Regions from separate parts of the Homo sapiens genome. Here region 1 is linked to region 2. The links are contacts of gene promoters, found by promoter capture Hi-C in human tissues and cell types (Jung and others, 2019). All regions are on one chromosome and are shown on one strand. Each heading gives the region's core, a stretch centred on a gene start or on the middle of the fragment in contact. The rest is flanking DNA. Distances are from core to core; before and after follow the strand shown.

Region 1 (2,700 bases), core at 94-2,593, 330 kb before region 2:
AATGCCTCCCTATCTTCTAGAAACGCCTTTCCTCCATCCTCACTTCTGTGCTTTACAACAGAACCCTGGCCTCTCTGACATGGATAGGCAGAGCCGCTTCCTGAATGCTCTTTATATTTGGTCTCTTTCTCCTGTACAGGTTTTTTTCTGCATTGCTTCAAGACTAATCTAAGATAAAAATCTACTCTCAAACATCGTAGCCATTAGGGAACTGCAAATTAAAACCACAATCAGATACCAGGCACATCTATAGGAATGGCTAAAATAAACATTATAACATTGAGTACTGGCAACAATGTGGAAAAACTGGATCATTGCTGGTGGGAATGTAAAATGGCACAGACACTCTGGGAAAGAGTACTGCAGTTTCTTACAAACTAAATATGCACTTACCATATGACCCAGCAAGCGCAGTCCTGGGCATTAATCCAGAGAAATAAAAGCTTATGTTCACACAAAATCCTGTAACTGAAGGTTCAGAGCACCTTTATGTATAATTGCCATTAACTGGAAATGACCCATATGTCCTTTAACAAATGAATGGTTAAAGAAGCTATGGTACATCTATAACACGGAATGCTACTCAGCAATACAAAGGAAAGAACTATTGATGCACACAACAAAATTAGATGGCTATCAAGGGAGTTCAGCTGAGTGAAAAAAGCAATCTCGAAAGGTTATATACTATATGATTCAATGTATATAGCATTCTTAAAATGACAAAATTACAGAAATGGAGAAAAGATTAGCAGTTGCCAGAGACTGGGGTTGAGGGGACATGACTGTGGCTATAAAAGGGTAACGAGAGATCCTTGTGATGGAACCTTTGCATCCTGACTGTGGAAGCGGTCACACAAATTTACACCTTTAAAAAATGCATAGAACACAACACACACACACACACACACACACACACACACAAATGAGTGCATATAAAACTGGTGAAATCCTAAAGTCAATGGATTGTATCAATGTCAATCATTATCCTGTTGTGATACTGGACTATAGTTATGCAAGATGTTACCACTGGGGGAAACTGGATGAAGAATATATAGGATCTCTATATTATTTTTTATAATTGCATGTAAATCTACAGTTAGCTCAAAATAAAAAGGTTTTTTTTTTTAATCTCATTAACTTCCAATAGTTCCCTAATGCCCACAGTGAAATATTTCTTAGCATGGCATGCAGAATTTCACCCGACCTATAATCTCTTTACACATCCTATGCCCTGAACAACTAGTTCTAAGAGCTAACATTTATTGAGCACTGGCCATGTGCCAGGTACCATTTTAAATATTTTATATGTATTATCTCATTTACTCCTCAGTGATCCCATGAGTCAGGTACTACTGTCAACCCCATTTTATATACAAATGACGTAAGTAGCTTATCCAAAGTCCCAATATGTCACACGCTCTTTCCATACCTTTGGGTCTGTACTTGTACCGCCTAAAAAGCCTCCCCACCTAATCACCCTTTAAGGCCCTGCCCCAATGTTACCTTCTGACTTTTTCCAGACTTAACTGTTACACTAAATGTGTCTAGCACTCAGATGTAATGGATAGATGTTTAATCAACATAAGGTCTAGACAAAAGGACATGAGGAAGTTATAAAACTGGCACCACGAGAAGCATTTGACACTGATTACATTAAGCCTGTTTCTCTGAAGTTAAACCTGAATGGAAAAGCATTCTATAATACACAGTAGGGTACAGAAAAGACTCATTAGCAAGAAAATGTTCATTAATAAAGCAATGGCTTTAACACAACCAAAGAGGGAAAGGTAGTATCAGGCTAAGGAAAGGCCAGTGTCAGCTGCAAAGTCCATTATCTTTCTCAAATTTTCACATAACAAATACACCAACAAAAACCTCAACTTCCTAAACCTAGTCCATTCTGCCTTATTAGGTACTTTTGTAAGAAAAGGTATAATGCTTTTTTTCCTCAGGAAAAAGAATATTTTCTCGAGGTAAAAACGCATCTTCATTATTTCCCTTGGAGGAAATTAGATTATTATCTAAAGACTGCTTAACTTATGAATTCGCTTGAAAAACATACTGATAATCCCACAACTATCTAGAATTGTTCTGAAATCTGAGTCTCTCCAAAGGATTCACATTTTATTTTATTTTTTATTTTTTTGGAGACGGAGTCTCACTCTGTTGCCCAGGCTGGAGTGCAGTGGCGTGATCTTGGCTCACTGCAACCTCTGCCTCCTGGATTCAAGCAATTCTCCTGCCTCCCTCCTGAGTAGCTGGGAGTACAGGTGCCCACCACCACACCTCACTAATTTTTGTATTTTTAGCAGAGACAGGGTTTCACCGTGTTGGCCAGGCTGGTCTCAAACTCCTGACCTCAAGTGACCCACCCACCTCAACCTCCCAAAGTGCTGGGATTACAAGCATGAGCCACTGTGCCTGGCCAGGTTCACATTTTAAACACACATGACAGAAAGTAGAAGAAAACACCAATTTTGTTTAGGTACATGAATGAAGCTTAATTGGCTTTATATTCCCTGTCATTGACCCCATGACCCCCTCCCCCTCAATAAGTTGTCTTCTGTTAAGTATAGCCTTTTCAGAAGGCACCAACATAGAATAAAAGTGAAAAAGAGGAGAATGCTCAGAACAGACCGGGTGAGAGGGTGACAGCCAGCCTCTCTTCCACTTATTGAGTGCTTACTATGGACCAGAGAC
Region 2 (2,700 bases), core at 70-2,569:
GCAGGGAAGGGGCCAGACCGACTCCGGTTCGCTCCCACGGCCTGCCTGCCTTGGGGTTTTGCAGGGCAGACGCATGGTCTCGCCGCTGGCTGCCGTGTGCCCACTGCTCAGGGTGGCCGGAGACGCACAGCCCCGGGAGGGGCTGGGCAGCCCGATGCCCCCACCACTCCAGCCCTCGGCGACTGGCCTTGCGCGCCCACACACACACTCCCCTCCGCCTACACCTCTGCCTTCACAGTCCTGGGAGTGGCCCTGTGCTGGGAACCTGCTTCTCCCAGCCGTGTCCCCATCTTCTTAAAGAGGTAGCCTTTCGGTCCTGGCTAAGCACCCTACCACAGAATTTTTGTCGGACATTGACTCCCCTCTTCAGTCAGTCGGCGAAGGGGGACTGAGGTCCCGTTTGGGGCACCTGTGAACACTGAATCACCTCTCACCTATTACAGTTGTTTTAATGTCCTGCCCCCACTCAGCAAAAACAAATCACTCTACTCTGTGGAGGGAAAGAGGAACCCAGAGGCAGGCCATCAGGGCTTCCTTCCCACAGTGCTGACCCCTGCCTGGGCCTCGGTTTCCGTGGGTGGCCATGCACACCGGGCCTGGCCGTAGTCCTGTGCATCAGAGGTCGGCCAGCTTCCTTTACTCCGGTGTGGTGGATTTCTCCACGCATAAGGCAAGGCAGGACTGGGTTTGGGATGGGTCCTGGACCTTCAGGGCAGGTGGTCAGTCACACAGGCCTTGGTGTGGTTGGTACTTGATGTTCTTTGGAGCTAAGACTGGCTGAGATTTGTACTTCCCTTGAGGAATTCTGGGATTTGTAGTCCTAAGTTAACCTCGTGGCTTTTGAAGCTGAGGAGCAGCTGACTGCTCTGATCTCTCTGGCCCTATCAAGGCTTGGAGTTCAGGAAGTCATCACCTTCTCTTGTCAGGGGTGAGTTTGGCTGACCTCAGGACTGGCCTCGAGAGCCCTGGTTAGGTACCAGTTGGGGGCCAGGGATGGCCTGTAACCTCCTGTTTTCCTTCTGGTTGGTAGCATTTCTGGGGACCAACAGCTGGCCGAGGCTCAGGGATAGAGACGGCTGCTCCAGCTAAAGGTCAGTTGTGATGTACATTGCCTGTTGGCACTGTCTAGGGAATGGGCCTCAGCTCCCCGAGTCCCAGAGAGCTTGGCTGAGCCCTGGTGTTCCCACCTCCTCAGAGCCATGAGGCAGGAATGTTCTCCTTATGTGACTAGGCACAGGTTCCAAATGGGGAGGGGACTGGCTCAGCATCCGGAGCCAAAACAGGAATAGAACTGGGAGCTGAGCCTGGAGCGGTTCTGGGCTTTTGGTTCTCTGCATCAACACAGCCAGCATGCCTATGATTTCTGTGCTGGGCAAAATGTTTCTGTGGCAGCGTGAAGGGCCTGGAGGACGATGGACTTGTCAGACAAGTCGCAGAGGTGAGACCAGGGATCATGGATGTGATCTGGGAGATGATGGGAAGCTGAGCAGTAGGGTGCTTAGGTGGAAAAGGAAAATTACTCTGGCTTAGATATTAAGAACCAGGCTGAAACAGGGAGAACCAGGCTGGGGCCAGACAGGGCATCAGGAAACGGCTTCAGGGGACAGGGGTGAAAATCAGAAAAAATATCATGAGTTCGTCAGAAAAGAAGAGTAAAGAGCTGTGGACCAGCTGAGGCTGGCGAGAGGAAAGAAGGCAGCAGGAAGAGAGAAGGAAGGCAACCCTCCTGCAAAGGGTCCAGGGTGGCGGTGGTGGGGGGGACAGTGATGGCGGAAGAACTCAGTGTGCTTTCCAAGAGGAATGGGTAGGCTGGGAAACGGGAAGGAGAGTCAGAATTTATCATTGTTTGGTTTCACCCTAGGGTTTTGAGGCAAAATTTATCCAGAGCAGGAAGGTGGCAAGTGGGCTGCCACAGAATGGCCCCAGGGGCCCGAGGGTCAGTGATGTGTGGGATGGGGGCTTTTAGAGTTGAGGAGAGCACTCAGTGGGCGCTGGTCTTCTGGAAGGTGGGGGAGGGGCCGAGAAATGATACGGCAATACTGGATGAAAATGGGGATCTCTGCAGAAGTAGGGGCACAGCTCAACAGCCTTTCCCCTTCCTCTCAGTGTCCTCGGACCCCGCTTGGGCTGTGGAGTGGATCGAACTTCCTCGGGGTCTCTCTCTATCCTCTTTGGGATCTGCTCGAACCCTCCGAGGCTGGAGCAGGTCCTCCCGCCCTTCCTCGGTGGACAGTCAGGACTTGCCAGAGGTGCTGGGCCCCTGGTGGTGGGGGGAAGGAGGACGTCATCCATATAAAGGGGATCTGCAGCCCCCACCCACGCCTGGCCAGCCAGCTTCTGGCTCCCTTTTCCGGCGGGCGGAGGCGCTATCCGGCGGCGGGCCGGGAGGCCGCCCCCGTGCCGGTCTGCTCTGCTCGGCGCTGTGCCAGCAGGCGGAGAGCTCGCGCCTTCCGCGCTGACGTCAGCGCATCCCGGGCCGTATCCCGGGAGACCCTGTTGCGTGGTGATGGGTTGCCAGGGAGACATACACCTTTTCTCTGGGCCTGGGCCGCAGCTGCGCGGAGCGCCGGGCACGGATGGCGGCGGCTGAGGGGAGCGAAGCGAGGGAGGGAGAGCAAGCTAAGAAACACCCAGCAGGTGCTCCCCCGCCTAGGCCTGGCTGGAGGCTACTGGCGCCACCCTGGGGGCCCTGTCAGCCAG

The links. Contacts are between HindIII fragments. The study calls those that stand out against the background at their distance.
Region 1: a contact is called between a fragment that was not itself captured here and the fragment with the promoter of FAM131A in region 2, in 1 of the 25 tissues and cell types used here (spleen).

The regions. Positions count from the first base shown.
Region 1 is chr3:184,011,127-184,013,826 of GRCh38, forward strand. All of the region lies in intron 2 of ABCC5 (ATP binding cassette subfamily C member 5), which reads right to left. It overlaps ABCC5-AS1 (ABCC5 antisense RNA 1), which reads left to right. Exons shown (of 3, transcript NR_046570.1): 3 at 140-293. Among named protein-coding and RNA genes, the nearest start is that of ABCC5, 5.4 kb to the right of the region's middle. RefSeq lists an enhancer at 1-479. The HindIII fragment of the contact is 5,237 bases long and covers 1-2,700 here.
Region 2 is chr3:184,336,281-184,338,980 of GRCh38, forward strand. FAM131A (family with sequence similarity 131 member A) reads left to right here and starts at 1,320. Exons shown (of 6, transcript NM_144635.5): 1 at 1,320-1,438; 2 at 2,107-2,249. The coding sequence starts at 1,351. RefSeq lists silencers at 1-70, 1-63 and an enhancer at 1,862-2,473. The HindIII fragment of the contact is 28,060 bases long and covers 1-2,700 here.